5 separate regions of the Homo sapiens genome follow, and all the other regions are linked to region 5. Evidence: promoter capture Hi-C in 16 types of primary human blood cells and fetal thymus (Javierre and others, 2016). All regions are on one chromosome and are shown on one strand. Each heading gives the region's core, a stretch centred on a gene start or on the middle of the fragment in contact. The rest is flanking DNA. Distances are from core to core; before and after follow the strand shown. Region 1 overlaps GRIK1 (glutamate ionotropic receptor kainate type subunit 1). Region 2 overlaps GRIK1 (glutamate ionotropic receptor kainate type subunit 1). Region 3 has its middle 16 kb from the start of BACH1-IT3. Region 4 holds the start of LOC124905006 (a long non-coding RNA gene). Region 5 holds the start of GRIK1-AS1 (GRIK1 antisense RNA 1).

Region 1 (3,114 bases), core at 565-3,064, 210 kb before region 5:
ATTTTTCTGGACTGGGTTCCAGATACTCTACACTTTCTTCTCTCCTCTGAACTCATTAGCTTACTCTCTTCTTCACCCTAAAACACAAAGATGCACACAGAAACGTAGGTACATTTGTATGTGTCAAATGTACTTTCAGAATGAAAATATCAGGGAGAAAGGAAGGTGATTATGCATTACATTTAATAGTTGACATTAAAAAAGTCCTGTTCTACAGTTTTTCAATATATTTTTAATGAAGTTATTTATAGCAAGTGTTATATGTATTGAATGAAAATTTAGTTATGTATAAGTGAAGACGAAAGAGGCTGGTGGATCTTAAAATATCCATAAACCAGATTGATATACTATATATTTTAGATATTAGAGGTTGATGTACTTCTTTTCTCACAAATTTCTGTAATAGTATGTGAAAAGATAGAGTAATATTTTCTAAAATAAGAGAAAAATTTAAAAATGGGAGAAAAATATTAGAAAATGTAAAATAGAATGCCTTGGATATAATTTTTAGTGAAGTGAATAAACTTTGTATTTCCTCCTTCTGATATGTTATCATTCTAGACCATCTTTAGCTGGTCAGATTCATCATACTCCAATTTATAAATGTTTAATTTAAGTCTTCTAATGCATTTTAATGAACGATTTTCTTCTATTTGTTGTCAATAAAAATTCTGATTGATATGAAATCTGAATATTGATTACAATCAAGCAAAACCTTTGTCCAATATCTGTTATTGTTATTGCCATTTTTAAGATCATTATTTTTCCCTTTCATGTCTGAAAATATTTTTGTACTTTGAAGGACTAGATTAAGTTTCCTAGAGATGTAGAATAATCCTGAAGAAACCAACCAGTTGTATGAAATACTGACTAATACCTATTTCTTTCCATTATTTCCCAACACAATGAATGCCACCTCAATTTTCCAGTTAAGCTCTCCTCCCACCTCCCTGAATCCTGGAATTTTCCTTTGAGACCACTTTCTGAATCCATGGCTGTTCGGATTGTGCTTCAAAATTACCTCCTTCATCTGGTGGTCTCTCTGCTTTTGGTCTGGTGCAGTTACTGAAAGAATATTTTGGGTGACCTCCCTCTAGTCTCCCTTCTGGTCTTCTTTCCTTCAATTCTTCCTCTACCCTCAGCCAGAGTGACTGCTACCTATCAGGCCTATTGGACTTACTTGCATTTTATATTTTAGCTACACCAAACTCATTTTTCCTCTAACATAATAGCCCTATTCTCTCTTATTTCCATGCCTTCTAATATGCCGCGTCCTCAGCCTGGCTCCTTTCACCTGATAATATCTGAGTGAACCTGCAAATCTTCAGTTAGCTATTCCCTTCTCCAGGAAGCCCTTCTTGACCCAGCCCCAGGTTAAATACTTCTGAGGGCTCCTTCAGTTTTGGACTTCCTCTGAGGAAGTTCTAATCCTGCTTTGAGTAATATACTGTTTTTCATCTTTGTTTTATAATTAATTATGTGAGAACAGGGACTGATATGGTTTGGCTGTGTCCCCACCTAAATCTCATCTTGAATTTTAGCTCCCATAATTCCCACGTGTTGTAGGAGGAATTTGGCGGGAGATAATTGAATCATGGCGGCGGTTTCCTCCATACTATTCTTGTGGTAGTGAATAATTCTCATGAGATCTGATGGTTTTATAAGGGGTTTCCTGTTTTGCTTGGCTCTCATTCTCTCTTGCCTGCCACCATGTAAGATGTGCCTTTCACCTTCTGCCATGATTGTGAAGCCTCCCCAGCCATATGGAACAGTGAGTCCATTAAACCTCTTTTTCTTTATAAATTACCCAGTCTTGGGTATGTCTGTCAGCAGCATGAAAATGAACTAATACAGGGACCATATCTGTTTTCTTCAGTATGGGACCCCCAGAACCTAGAATGGTGCCTAGAATGTGGCGAACACCTTTACTTTTTGAATGTATTTTTGCTTTCTGGTATCCTTTTCCAGCGCACTTCACTAATGTTCTGAGTATCATTTAAACTATTTATAAAATTAGACTTTAGAACACAAAGATAAATTGGTTCACATAGTAACTAGGTAACTTGGTATAAACTAAAAGTAATTTTTAAAACTCAGCCCAAAATGACTATGTTTGTCTAAACCAATAAGAAGAATTTTCAAAATAGCAAACTGCACAACTGACGACATACAGCAAACACACCTTTGCCAATGGGAGCAAGTAATGGGGAACAAACCAAGCTCAACTTGTTCTGGAAAAAAACCCTGTTGTTTTATTATTATTTAGAAAGCACACACAACAATTTATTGGGGAAAAAGAAAAAATGCAAAATAATTGAGCATACAAATTTATTTTAAAAGAACTGGTGTCACTTCCCAAGTCATATCTATGTGAGCTTTTTAAACTTTTGTATTTCTTATATCTGTATTCATAATCAGAGTTATGGATATAGATATATGGAAACACATCACACACTCCTCAGAAATCCTTTCTCCAAAAATCTGTAGGGAATGCATCCTTTTTCTTCCTACAGGCGTTTCCTTGGATCACGCCACAGTCTCTTTTCTCTGAGTTCGTCTCTGATGACAAGTAAGGATACTTGTGAAGGAAGATTTCCCCTTAGTTCTTGACTTTTTCTTTATTTTTTTCTGATTCTTCAGTGAGATTCCCAGTTCTTCCATGATAGCGTTGAAAGAGAGACACTAGGGAACATGAGATACAGACCATCAGCTTAATTAAGCCTATCGCATGTGCCGTTGACCTGCCTCTTGCCTAGGTATTTATGAACACAAGATATTGGCTTGAAGGCAGCTCTGTCACAATTGGCCAGTTCCCATCACCTCCTCCTCCACCCGCTGGCCACCCACCTTTTCTAATCGGGGAAACTGAGATGGCAAGTTAGCTGGGCAAACTTTGGGATTTCATTCACAAATGCAGTAGTATAAAACTACCCAGTTAAAGCAAACTCAGGGCTCTCAAAATAGATAACTTACCTTTGCTGAGACACCAAAATAGAGTTAAATTAAGTCATTTCCCCCACTGAGATGATCCAAACATTGATAGGATTATCAAGGCATACGGACACTTCAGTAATGCTATAGAAAATGAACAAACCTTCTCTACACCAAGGCTTT
Region 2 (3,405 bases), core at 695-3,194, 160 kb before region 5:
TGTACACCATAAGATGTTTGGCAGCATCCCTGGACTCCGTCCACTTGATACCAATAGCACTCCCTACTACCGGCCATGACAACTAAAAAAATGTTTGTAGACATTTCCAAATGTTCCCTGGGGGACAAAATCCCTCCTGGTTGAGAACCACTGATTTAGAGTATTAAAATACAAAGGATAATATCACTATATACATACTGTCAATATTTTATTTTCTGAAGTAAGGCATATTTAAAGAGAGCTTTGGTCAGTAAAAGTATAAAATCTGAGCTTTGGTAAGGGTACAGTTTATAAGGCCTAGAGAACATCAAAACATTCATTTCATATTGAATGTATAAATACCCACATGTGAGAGCACATGTTGATTCAGTTTGAGTATGTCTGCCTTGTGGATCTTTAAAACCTTTCCAGCCTGTGTTATTTTCCCAAGCTTTCTTTATAATTACACCAGGGAAAGAGTTACCTGGCATTAATCAAAACCAGACAGTGGACAATGACAAAGAGCTAGCATGAAGAAATATTTCTCTTAGAAATTCCTGGAGGGAAAACAAAAATTGATTAGGGAAAAAGTTCACTGAGTTTTGTTGAAAGGTGAAAAAGATTGAAAACAAGTAGGGACATACAAAAGCAATTATTTTTTACATGGTTTATCTAGGGACAGCAAATGTTTAAGCCAACAGAAAGATAAAATAACTGTTTCAAATTTAGCATCAAAAGTATTCAGAATATATGATCTATTGAAAGGTATAAAAATCCTTTAAGGAACTGTGTAGAGCAAAATGGTTAAATACAGAGTTAAATCTCGAAAAGTAAAACCTCAATTGAATCATCTTAATGATAGCACAAAGGTTTCATGCCTCCAGGCTCTGTATGTAAGCAATCTTTCCTTTCAGCATTATTTCTAGAATTCTCTTTAACTTTCTCATGCCTTTAAAAATAAATTTAATAGAACTTTTAAAGTATTTTTCTTCATTCCTAAGGGTTTCACAATCTTTTTACTCCACTGTTTTTTATTTGCTATGATAATTCTTTGCTGACTTTTTTATGTTTTGCTTATCCAAATATTCTAGGGGTCAAATATCTTGAGACCATTTTACAATTCCTATGGAAACATTTTACACATCATTTGAGCCATTACTTTTGTTATAAATCAAGGAAAATGGCTAAATAACCATTTTATGTTGCTTGAAATAGGGATAAAGTTAAACTAATATTAAAAATTATCTTCCTCTCTTTTAAAAGTAACTTTATAAATAATTAGAAAACATTCATTTACAGAACGGCTTTTATATGGAAACCTTCCAAGAATAGAACACTAGGCAAAACTAAAAGTACACTTTAAAGTTCCTAATTTTTGTCTGCCTCTGGGACATACAGAAATCTGAGACTGACCTACACCTCTTGTGAATTCAGTGATTCTCAAACTTACCTTGCAATCACAAAGAGTACACAGCTGACTCCCAAGCAGGCTAAGAGCACATACATCCAAATATCTGGAGACAGGGGGTTGAGGAAGGAGAAAACGCCTGGATTGGTACCATTGGGCTTCCGGTAGAGAATGCTGATGCCTAGGGTCATGAAGGGTTTGGAGAAGTCAATGACTTTCTCCCGCACGTAGGTGATGGTAAGAGGAGCCACTGCCAGGTCAGCCCTCTGCAAAAGCAAGTCCAAAATTGTCAGCTTAGTCTAGTTTCTTTGCAAATGTCTAGACTTTTCCTGGGTACTCCTGATTCTTATTCTCAACTCTAAATGCTTCTCATTCATGAAGCTCCTGTGATGGTTGGTTCTAATAAAAAAAAGCCAATTTATACAGTTATGTTTATGAAACAGTATCAGCAAAGAGAAACCAGAAAGTATAAAACACACATATACATACACAAATATATATCCATCATTCTGGAACTAAAGACAAAAATGCAGGAAGATGCCTTTAAAAAGGGCATGTGAGAAAAAGAAGGAATGAGCAACTTGGTTGTACTATTAATTGACATGATGAGATTTTGCTCTGAGCTGAAAACTTTAAAATTCTTTTTTTTTTTTTTTTTTTTTTTTTTGTGAGGCGGAGTCTCACTCTGTCGCCCAGGCTAGAGTGCAGTGGTGCAATCTCGGCTCACTGCAAGATCCACCTCCCAGGTTCATGCCATTCTCCTGCCTCAGCCTACCGAGTAGCTGGGACTACAGGCGCCCACCACCACGCCTGGCTAATTTTTTGTATTTTTAGTAGAGGCGGGGTTTCACTGTGTTAACCAGGATGGTCTCGATCTCCTGACCTTGTGATCCGCCTGCCTCAGACTCCCAAAGTGTAAAATTCTTAATTTAAGAATCACTCAAGTTTATGTTCAGTATGAAAGAAGGATCCATATAATATGGTTTGGTTCTGTGTCCCCACCTAAATCTCACCTTGAATTGTAATAATCCCCATGTGTCAAGGGTGGGACCAGGTGGAAGTAACTGGATCATGGGGTATTGGGATCTGGTGATTATGAGTGAGTCTCATGAGAGCTGATGATTTTATAAGTGTCTAGCATCTCCCCTGCTTTCACGCATTCTCTCACCTGCCACCCTGTGATGAAGTGTCTTCTGCCATGATTGTAAGTTTCCTGAGGCCTCTCCAGCCATGAGGAACTGTGTCAATTAAATCTCTCCTTTATAAATTTCCCAGTCTCAGGAAGTTCTTTATAGCAGTGTAAAAACAAACTAATGCACCATATATTTTTATCATTAATTTTTATCTTTACTTGCCCTTCTAAGTAAGCAAACTCCATTTCCAGGCTGTTTTACTTTGCTTCTTAAAAAAATTGTTACGATTCAAAAAAAGGAAACATTTCTTCTGACATCATTTTTTCCTCTCTTACTTTCTCTTATGCATATTTTCAGATATGTTAGAAATATTGTTACTTACGTGATCTATGAGTTCTTTAACCATCCCGTTCCACTCCCCTTTGTCATTCTGGGCCCCATATTTGCCATCGGGAACTAGTTTAACATCATAAATGAAACCCAGGATGTTTGACAATTCTTTCAACAGGTCTAGGCAATATCCTTCAAATCTGTCATTTCCATATAGAGGCTTATCAGATTTCCTGTACATAACATAGGGTTCTTCCTAAATGAAACAAACCAAATATGAAAACCCTGTTATAATGAAAGGAAGAGTTTACCCTATCAGCAGCTTGAAGATGTGAAATGTTTGATAATGATTTTGAAGAGCTGAGAGTACTGAAGTCATTCACTCATCTGCCTGCCTATGTCCTCTATAAATACAAAACACTTCCTATATTATTGTTTCTTTCCCTTCTGCGTCTTTCGATGGGAGCTTTTCCTTCCGCTGTGGAGGGTGGGGCTGTGCGGGAATGGTGTGATGGATACACAGTCACTGTTAAATGTTGGGTCTGAGAAGAAGGA
Region 3 (3,456 bases), core at 226-2,725, 240 kb before region 5:
GCTCCTCCCTTTATTTTCACCCAACTCTATTATTTGTGTATATTTCTGCCTTCTCCATTTTCCCTGCCAGAATGTAAATTCCTTGAAGAGTGAGAGCGAATACTTATTAATCTTTGCTGCTGTAGTGCACTTATATCAGAATGGTGGCCAGAGCTCCATAAGTGTTTTTTACCTATAAATTCTTCTCCAAAATTACATGATGAAATTGGGTGCCATCTAAAAAACATAGAGATAGTATGTCCTCTGTTGTTTTTCCATATGTCATGCACTTTTGACCCAAATAATGATAAAAAGCAACTGTGTGAATGTCTGCATTTGAAGATACTACTCTTGGGAAATGGGTCTTCTTTCTCTCAGCACTGAATCTTCCATCATCCTGGCTCTAAGCTGTGCTAATTTGAAAATAAGGGAGAACAAAGAAGCTTGGTCTGGAGATGAATCACAGTATGAAAGAACACACAATCAAATGGCAAAGAAAAGGTGGACATGCTTAGGCTGATTCATACCCTGGTAAATTAATGGCACAGTTGCCTCCTGATTACAAAGATCTACTTCCAAAGAAGCTACTCTTGTTGATAAAAGACTCCCAGCCCACTGAAAAGGAAAAGGAAACGGAGTCTCAGAACACTTCAAATAACTTTTCTACTGTTTGGAAAATATTTTCCTGAGATGCTGAGTTCTATCATCAGCAAAGAAATAATTTATTCAGAAGTGTGGAAGGATTTAGAATTTCTCCAGTGCTCCCTTTCATTCTGTTTAAGATGTGGGCCATATCTTTGAGGAATTCCTGCCTACAGGTTGTCACGGGGTGGTTAACAGGATGTAAGAGCAGTTGCTACAGTATCGAGGGACCTAGACGTCATCAAAGTTTGGTTTGGATGGATATGACAACAGGACGTGTGCACAAAACATTGTATTGATGTTAGGCCAAAGATATCAATGAACAATTTAAAAATTCTGCTTCTGTGCTAAGGGCAGCCACCCTGCCATGTGAGCAGCAGTGCATGAGGGCCAGGAAATTAAAAGGCTTAACCGCATGCCCCAAACCATCCAAGCTACTTTATTGTTCAAGTGAAGTGAAATACAAACACAAATAGCCAGGAGGGTGAAATTTAAATTAAACTTCAAAATCATTTTGTGTTTTAACCATCGACAGTGTTCTTTGTGCTGCAAATAAGGCCACATTTATCGGAAACCTAGAAAAATAACTCCCTTGGCTCTATAGTCTCCCTTTTACATACTCTGCACCTGTTCACTTTGAAAGAAAGTTTGACCAGGTTCCCAGGAATGCAAAGTAACTACCTAGGAGGACTTTCTAAACCATGATGACCATGGCTAATGCTCTTCTCCAAGATGATGATCTGGATTTCAGCAGGATTTCAGGCCAAGATTGTCGTGCCTTTCATTGTTAGGTGGCTGCATTTGGAAATGCCTTGCAAGAGAGACATCTGCAAGGGATTCCTAATGATTCACCACGTTCTGGCTTTGTGACTTGGATACGCATTTCTGTAGACTGGTTTTTCCTTGGCACAGTTGTGCTACTGCTCTCCAGTCAGGAGCTGGATGTGAATGAGCAGGATGTTTCCCTGAACAGTTGAGCTTTTATTCTTTGAATCACAGACCACCTGCAGAAATTCCCCCTTATGGAAAGAGGTTGGAACCCACGCTGGAGCTAGGCAACAGGCTCAGTGGATTGGCAATTCCATGTTTTTTTTTTTTTTTTTTTTTTTTTTCTGAGACCAAGAATTTTTCTGCCTTCGGAGAGATTTGGGTTCATTTATAAAAGAAGATTTGATTTCTAAAAGTCTGCTATTAATGTGGCAGGCTAAATGAAAAAGTGTTGAAAGCAATAAGTTAAAAATCAATTTCTCATGAGAGGAAGCCAGGTGCAGTGGCTCACGCCTGTAATCCCAGCACTTTGGGAGGCTGAGGGGAGCAGATCACCTGAGGTCAGGAGTTCGAGACCAGCCTGGCCCACATGGTGAAACCCCATCTCTACTGAAAATACAAAAATTGGCTGGGCATGGTGGCATGTGCCTGTAGTCCCAGCTACATGAGAGGCTGAGGCAGGAGAATCCCTTGAACCCAGGAGACGGAGGTTGCAGTGAGCCAAGATCGTGGCACTGCACTTCAGCCTGGGTGACAGAGTGAGACTCTGTCTCAATTAAAAAAAAATTTTTTTTTCATGAGAGAAAATAACAAGGTTGTAAATGTCACTGCCTGTGCCATGTAGAAAGAGGTATATTTTTCAAAGACATCTATCAGGTTTGCTACATAGATATTGTTTCTTTAAGAGGATTTAAGAAGGGTGTTCATACAAACTTGTAGATATGGGGTTTGAAGTAGGAGGAAAAAAAAAACAGAAAAAAAGAAGAAAGGGAGTCTAGCGAGTAGGTTTTAAGAACAGATGCAGTTCCTCCAGGCAAATCTGGTGAAAGGGACCAGCATGACTTCTGGCCCTCGTGGGGGGCTCTGGGGTCCCGTGGTCACCTCCTTCACAGCAGGCAGCAGCCTCTAAGTTGCTCAAAAAAGCTTCTCCTTAAGGCCAAGAGAAGTCTTTATGTTTGAGCCTAGACTTTATATTTTTGCCTTGATTAAAGAATTCTCTGTGTTTATTTCTTTTTACTTGAAGGTGCTTTCTCTTTAGGTTGAGGCAAAAAGAAAAATAATTCTTATTAATAGGAAAGACACAAAGAACTTTTCCTGTTACTTTGTGGGTGAGTACTGGCCACCATCTGTGGTGGTTTAAAAAATCTATCCATAAATGCTTTGATAGTTCTGCCATCATGAAGTGGAGTCTATGAACCAATCCCCGGAACATGGGCAGCCTTTGTGATCGGCTTGATGAATAGAATGAAGCAGAGTTATGCTGCCTGACTGACTTCTAGGCCTTGGCTAGATGATGCCACATGGCTGCTATGGTTTCTCCTGTGACTCTAGTTCTGGGAGTCTTCTGCCACCATATTTGTAGTCTGGCCATTCTTAGGTAACGTGGAAAGAATTAACTCCGCAGGGGTAATTGTTCAAACTCTTCACATTTCGAAGAAGGTTTGGCCCTTGTTCAGCCCCTGGAGTGTTTTTATTTACCTGAAACTTTGGGCCATGCCAGATAGTTAATAATAATGTGAATAATGGTAGCAGACTTTGGGCTGTGGTATCAGCTTGACCTCTGGAGGGGCTGAAGAGCTGAGGTCAAGCATGGGGGTGGTCAGCCATGCCAGTGTAATCCTCAGTGAAAACACTTGGTCAAACCTTGGCCACCAAAGTTTGAGTGAGCTTCCCTTGTTGGCAATACTTTGTGAATATTGCCATATATCATTCCTGGAAAAATTACGTGCTATCTCAATGACTCCACTGGGAGAAGGCAACTGGAAACTTTCCCTTGGTGTCTCCTAGACTCTTCCCTAACCACCTTTTTCCATTGCTGATTTTAATCTGTATCTTTTTGCTGTCAAA
Region 4 (3,366 bases), core at 715-3,214, 190 kb before region 5:
TCTACAAGTAAATGTTATTTGAGAGTTTGAGGTTAATGAATTTCTGCCCAGGAATTATTCTTGACTGTGTTCTGTTTCCATGAGTGATGTTCAACATAGCTAGTGCTCTTCTGTGACACCAGAGGTTTCAAGTTTAGTTTTCTTTCTGTGGATCACGGTTTTTAAATCTTTAAATGCTAAGACACTTTTGAGTCTTTGTGTAAATAATACATTTTAAATCGTGGAATCAGTTTCAATTAAAAATTAACATTGTTATGGAGTTATGTGTGTACTGTTGAAAAGGTAAGGGTTTTGGGTAGTTTGAAAATACGCAGATCTACACAATATATGAGACAGGGAGAAGAAAAGAGGAGGGAACAAAGTTCACAAAGATGAAAAGAAGTCCATAGAATTAGCATCGTGTTTCCATGCTTTGCCCTGTTGAAAGTCTGAATCTCCTTTTTCATGAAGGAAGAGTTACTTATTTTTAATGCATGAAGATAGAACTAAGATGATGAGTGGGACAGAGAAGATTCCTGTAAATACACATTTCTAGAAGTCTTTATACCCCTAATATGCCCCTGCTTCAACATACAGTGCAAGTATCTTTCCAGTGTATTCATTTCAATGTCTAGAATACATGAGTTTTGCTATCCTAAAGGAATAGAGAATTGTGGCTATTTATGCTTAGCAAATACAAATATCAACAACACCAATTAGCAAAAACATTTTCTACTGGGCACATCTTTTTTTTTTTTTTTAAACTGATTACACAGTATGAACTGAGGACTGTTTTCGAATCCCTCTCTCCTCTCGAATTAATTTACCACATTCTAAATCCGTAGATAAAGTAGTTCCAGAAGTGGAGTTGGTTGGATGGGTTTGCTTACATTGCAGTCCATAAAAGAAACAAAAAGCCTTGCATGCAAAAGAAATGAGAAAAAAATATAGAAAAATGAATAAATCAGAAGCAAGAATGAATGTTTAAATGAAAATTTACATCACATGAAGCTGGCAACTATGAAAAGCACATTAAAGCATCATATATACAAGCTTTTATTTTCCAAATTAGTTGCATAAAACAAGACACCTCAAGAGCAAATTGAAAGTTAAAGCAGATCAGTTCATTCTCCCTTTGAATTAAAGAAACAGCTTCTTATAACAAGAGCTTTGGAAAGGGGTGTTCATTGTTGTCATAGTTGCCTTGTAATTCTGGGGAAGATTTTCATGTGAAACCAGGTTATAATGAATCATCCCCAGTTTTGGGCCCTTAAGGAGGGCTTCCACTTAAAGAAAGTGGATCTATTATCAGATTATTAATCAGAACCAGCCACATAATTTGCAGGGTCCAGTGCGAAATGAAAATATGGGACACTTTGTTCAAAAATTATTTAGAATTTCAAGATGACAGGAGAGCATTAAACTGGCTCTGTCATTAATAGTCATAGTCTTAAAATTCTAACAATATTTAAAAATTCAAAGCAGAGCCTGATTCACTATGATGACCATAAACTTTATATTTTGTTTATTCTAGCATGGTTATGAAGGAATTATCTTAAATCACAATCAGCCTTTTCAAAAGAGTGTAAGTTGATTTCCTTCAAAAATGGTGTGATTTCCTTCAGAAATAAAAGTAGTAGGCAAAAATGGTCAACTACTAAAGTTGTCCTATAATCCCAAACACAATTTAGAAAAATAAAGTCTCATATACATTGCATTTTCATTTTGTATTGTTTATGACATTCCTGGCAAAAAAAAATTTGAGGTGATATATCCTTTTACAAATCTTACTTTGATAGAAGTGTTCAATTTCGTAGTATGACTTTTACATATTTATATAAATTGTTTTGCATTAGTACATGTGCTCAGAATCTATACTTAAGGGCTGGTAACATTTCTGTTAAATATCTTTTTATATCTTTTCCAATTTTGGATTTATTTTTGCCTTTTTCCATCTAGGGTTTCTATCTTACGAGCAAACAACAGTTCAAAAATTAACTGAGTTTGGAATTTCTGCACTGTCTTTCCAAATAATGCTAATTGGATTTAGTGTATAAGCCCCTTCCTTGTCGTTAATAAATGATGGACCTGCAGTGCCCACAGCACCTGGCAGGGATTCAATAGCTCTCTGCTCTAACTCAAAAATGGCTCTTCTGGGCATCTAATTCAATAGACTGAAAAAGAGCAAACATCCTTAAAAACCCCCAAACTTAAGACAGATAATGCAAACTATAAACTAACCAGTCCTAGAAAGAGATGACTCACCTGTTCAATATCATTATTCTTCCGTGATTTGTATATGAATTCTCCAATAGCTACAAATACAGAAAGGACCAGTCCGGCAGCCAGAACAATGAAGATGCCTCCAATATTTTCCACTCCCAGGGCACTGGCTTCTTTGTTGTCTTCCTCGGGGCAGCCATTCCCACGCCACCACTTCTCTTTCATCATATGCAGCTTCCCTTCTTCTTGGAGTTGAAGAATAGCAATAGTAATTTTATCCCGGTAAGGAGAACCTGGAAGTAAAACCATCTGGATATTGGTCACCAAAATGTTGAAGAAGACATCCAGAAGTATTCTTAATTATCATCTTTGTCATAACTATGTTACGGCTGTTGTGAGACCCCAATCCACAAATTGACTTGCAAAGGACAGGAAAGTTCACTCCTATATTTTGAAGGCACTATATAATTGGAAAGAAGATAGCTGACATGTTGAGATTAACTTTGGCCCCGATTGTTTGCTCCTTTTAAATAAGGAGAAGCAAAGCTAGGAATTCTATGACATGTCTTTGTTTCTGGTGAGATCATTATGAGTCTTTTCACATGTCAAGAGATTTCACTGTGTAAGCTAAAAATAAAATTCTAAGCCCCCATTGACTGAACGACCCTCTTTTGTAACCAAAGGGACCCCAGAAAAAGCTTAAGAACTTAGTTTGCAGCCATACCGGAATGGGAGGTCAGACAGAGCAGTCTATTTGTGGCAATAAGATATCAAATTATAAACAGAACTGAAGGCCATGCCAGACAAGGGTTAAGTCACACAGCCTTGGACTTAAAAAATAAACTATGCTCCAACTGCTACAAGGCTTTTCTTTTTCTCAAGGAGGTAAACAAGCACTGGCCTCAAGATAAGCAATATTAAAACAACTACAGCTCATCCAACTCTTAGACACTGACTTCCAGCCCCTGTTCCACCAGATATACCTTTCATTAAACAAGATCCTGATTTCAGTAACTTTCTCCAGAGAAGAAGACCACCGACCTTAGACTGGTTCTGGTTGGATTAAAGAGAGTGTACCCTTGCATGCCATTGTGTCCTGCAAGACATTTTGACGTATAGAACCTAATTATAAAACCATTAAATGTTAAGTCTCTACCCCGAAGT
Region 5 (3,144 bases), core at 375-2,874:
ATATCATTCCGGCTAATTCAGAAAATCATAAATGTTCACTCAAGAGAGTTAAGATTTTACTCAATGATTGTAATTGTAAAGTGACTATGAGAAAAAGTTCAAGTGAAAGGACTTGGCTGATCTGAAGTAGGGTGTTATCAATTTTAATGAATCATTGAGCAACAGGTTTAGAGAGGACATTAAAAGAGATGACACACAAATATAAACCAGAGAATTGCCAATTGAAGGGAACAACCAGAAATGCAATTTAAAGTGGTGTTCTTTTGATGTTCAAAGTAACTTTTGGTGATTTTTACACACAGAGAAAAAGAAAACATTTTTTCCCTACTCAAGGTACTGCCATACAAAATAATCAAAAGGAAAAAGTATCACTTTTAGGTAGCCATTTTCTACACCTCAATCAGATTAAAGGTCTATTTTTCATCGGTTTACTTAGAGTGAATTTGCACTGCTGCATGGTGTTGTTAGTCTTTGTTGGATACCATAAGGTGTCTCCCAAGAACTTAGGAATAATGAAAATAAAATTGTTCCCTGAGAGCTAAACTATGAGCCAAACAAATAATAAATAAAAGTAGAGAATCACAGTTACCTTAAATAGACAAAAGAGCTCCCAGGACTGCAAGACTTGATTGTAACCTGCCTGAATGTATTAGAGTACTAAGAAAGAATATAGTCTCAACTGATGTCTGCACAGCCATGGGAAGATAAGGGAAAAGAAAGTCTCAGAGCAATATGGGCATGCCATTTATGCATGGTCCTGGCTAGGGAGTAAGAGCATCCTTTTGAGTAGGATATGTCTAGCTCTTACACATCAGATTAATCTCCCAAATCCTTGTTGTGTTCTCTTTACATGATCAGGAAGGAAATCTCCAATTGTGATCTGGCTTCCTGCAGGGGTTAAGGTAAACAAGGCAGACCCTGAGAAGAGGCGAAGGCAGAAAGTATCAGTTGGTTGAAGAAAGATAGTATCAGTTGTTGAAGAAAGAATAGAAAGCATGGGCCAGGCCGGGTGGCTCACACCTATAATCCCAGCACTTTGGTAGGCTGAGGCAGGTGGATCACGAGGTCAGGAGATCGAGACCATCCTGGCCAATATGGTGAAACCCCGTCTCTACTAAAAATACAAAAATTAGCTGGGCGTGGTGGCACGTGCCTGTAGTTCCAGCTACTCGGGAGGCTGAGGCAGGAGAATCGCTTGAACCTGGGAGGCAGAGCTGGCAGTGAGCAGAGATTGCACCACTGCACTTCAGCCTGGCGACAGAGCATGACTCCATCTCAAAGAAAAAAGAATAGAAAGCATGAGTAGTGATTACAGACATAAATTTCAGTAGCCCACTGAAGAAATATTCTGTGATTTAATGTCAGTCTTTTTAAAGTCACAATTTACAGCAACCTTTTTCTCCCTTAGAATTTAAACATGCTTAATCCCGTTTCATCTCAAACAATAAAATAAAAGAGACATGCCACCTCCACTTTTTCCAACACCCCTTTCCTGAGTTCCAGCTAACACTGTGAAAGCAAGGTGTATGTTTCTTAAGTATTCATTTAAGTTCTTGGGTTTATTTACATATTGTTTCTCCCTGGCATTAATCAGAGTATTGTTTGAATTTTCCAACGGTATTTCAGTTACACTCTGTTGATTCAAAAGAAGGTTGTTTGTCCAAGCTTGTCCAAGTCAGTTTCAAGAGGCTCAGCCACCAAAAGTTTCATCAAAGAGGAAGCCAAGGTCATCAGTAAAGCCTCACGAGAGGTAGGATCACAGGGGTGAAGTGGACACTCACGGGTCCTGCCATCCTTGGCATCAGGAAAGTCTCCATTCTGGACCACCTTTGTCTGTCTGAACAATTCCTCTCAGATTTTAGAGTCTGGAAATTTCCTGAGTAGCTTAAGAGAAGATAAGAGTCAAAGTTTCCAAACTGTAGAAATAACCCAAATGCATGGCTCCTTTTATTTCCACAAATTTGGCCAGAGACATGACAATTTGGGCAACTTTGTGCAATGTTTTACATTTAATGATTTTTATGACCCAAACTCTGCTAGGCAGAATAGTATAAGCATTTGTAATCCGTACTGAAATAATCCATCTGGCATAAAATCCAAATTTCAAAATTGGATGAGATTGTGTGTTCTGGGCCTACCAAGATAGTTATTACACACATGAGAACTCAAAATACTAAAGCTACTGGTAGAAACAATTGCTCTTCTCCTTGCTGTAAACATGAAAGTGAGAAGCAGCAAAGAACGATCAACAAATTAACACCCTTTTCATATTTTTTGTGACAGCTACCTGGAACGGGCAGGAAAGAAAAATGCAGATAAGAAAATTAAAACCACAGACTCCTGGGCAGCGAACAAGAGCCTTCTGATCCTAATTCGATCTGGAGTTAAGAATGAAGGGGATTTCTGTAGCAGTTTCTTTTGCATAGCAGAGCTCCGACTTTTCCAGCAACAGCGTGTCCCTGGAAGCTACACAAAGTCCTCTTTGATTGCCTGTGATCAAAGCCACGAAGGCTCTCCTGCAACATCTTAGCTTCAGAAAGCCAGGAAAATCAGAATGCTGAGAGTATATTAATAATTCCTAAACATATTTTTAAGGTGAGTGGTACTTCTAACAGAGCTTCATTATTACTAAAAATGATTTGTTTCTGACTTTCCTGTTGGGGAAAAAGTTAGCCTTAACTTTCTGATGAGCAAGTTGCATGTTACAGTGGATATTGAACAATATAGTCAGTTGTTTTACTCAGAATTTATGCAGCTGATCACATAGGGACAGGACTGGATGATAGAAAGCTCACTAGACTGGAAGTCAGGAGAATCAGCTTTGTCACCGATCTAACGTAGCATAGTGGACGTGTCTAATAGCCTTGGCCTCAGCATCTCCATCTGTGAAATGGGCTGAAGGGCTTGAGCTCTCTGTTACTTCTTTGGGATGTGGTAGTTAAGAAGGCTCCCATTGGATTCCACATACCCTTGTTTATAGCCATGGCTGAATCTTCACAAGACTGCCAAATCCCAAGCTGCCTCCTCTTCTGTACCATTTCTGCCACATTTGGGTCTTTATCAGCAGGAGAGTGCAGACACTTTAATGTGAATTCATGTGCAGCATTTGACCGAGGATTATTTCTACTTTTTAAAAGGCAGCAA

Evidence for each region. Contacts are between HindIII fragments. The CHiCAGO score rates a contact against its expected background, and 5 or more counts as called.
Region 1: a contact is called between a fragment that was not itself captured here and the fragment with the promoter of GRIK1-AS1 in region 5, in 1 of 17 cell types (monocytes). The highest score is 5.2, in monocytes.
Region 2: a contact is called between a fragment that was not itself captured here and the fragment with the promoter of GRIK1-AS1 in region 5, in 1 of 17 cell types (monocytes). The highest score is 5.6, in monocytes.
Region 3: a contact is called between a fragment that was not itself captured here and the fragment with the promoter of GRIK1-AS1 in region 5, in 1 of 17 cell types (monocytes). The highest score is 5.4, in monocytes.
Region 4: a contact is called between a fragment that was not itself captured here and the fragment with the promoter of GRIK1-AS1 in region 5, in 1 of 17 cell types (monocytes). The highest score is 6.4, in monocytes.

The regions. Positions count from the first base shown.
Region 1 is chr21:29,534,704-29,537,817 of GRCh38, forward strand. It overlaps GRIK1 (glutamate ionotropic receptor kainate type subunit 1), which reads right to left. Exons shown (of 18, transcript NM_001330994.2): 17 at 3,095-3,114; 18 at 2,230-2,682. The coding sequence ends at 2,527. Among named protein-coding and RNA genes, the nearest start is that of BACH1-IT3, 40 kb to the left of the region's middle. The HindIII fragment of the contact is 6,155 bases long and covers 1-3,114 here.
Region 2 is chr21:29,585,937-29,589,341 of GRCh38, forward strand. It overlaps GRIK1 (glutamate ionotropic receptor kainate type subunit 1), which reads right to left. Exons shown (of 18, transcript NM_001330994.2): 11 at 2,903-3,106; 12 at 1,430-1,653. Among named protein-coding and RNA genes, the nearest start is that of GRIK1-AS2, 8.4 kb to the right of the region's middle. The HindIII fragment of the contact is 3,033 bases long and covers 429-3,405 here.
Region 3 is chr21:29,509,827-29,513,282 of GRCh38, forward strand. No RefSeq gene overlaps it. Among named protein-coding and RNA genes, the nearest start is that of BACH1-IT3, 16 kb to the left of the region's middle. The HindIII fragment of the contact is 2,110 bases long and covers 421-2,530 here.
Region 4 is chr21:29,552,808-29,556,173 of GRCh38, forward strand. It overlaps GRIK1 (glutamate ionotropic receptor kainate type subunit 1), which reads right to left. Exons shown (of 18, transcript NM_001330994.2): 16 at 2,245-2,495. LOC124905006 (a long non-coding RNA gene) reads left to right here and starts at 2,490. Exons shown (of 3, transcript XR_007067839.1): 1 at 2,490-3,366. The HindIII fragment of the contact is 1,868 bases long and covers 1,031-2,898 here.
Region 5 is chr21:29,746,551-29,749,694 of GRCh38, forward strand. GRIK1-AS1 (GRIK1 antisense RNA 1) reads left to right here and starts at 1,625. Exons shown (of 5, transcript NR_027021.1): 1 at 1,625-1,750; 2 at 2,284-2,595. All of the region lies in intron 1 of GRIK1 (glutamate ionotropic receptor kainate type subunit 1), which reads right to left. The HindIII fragment of the contact is 19,094 bases long and covers 1-1,663 here.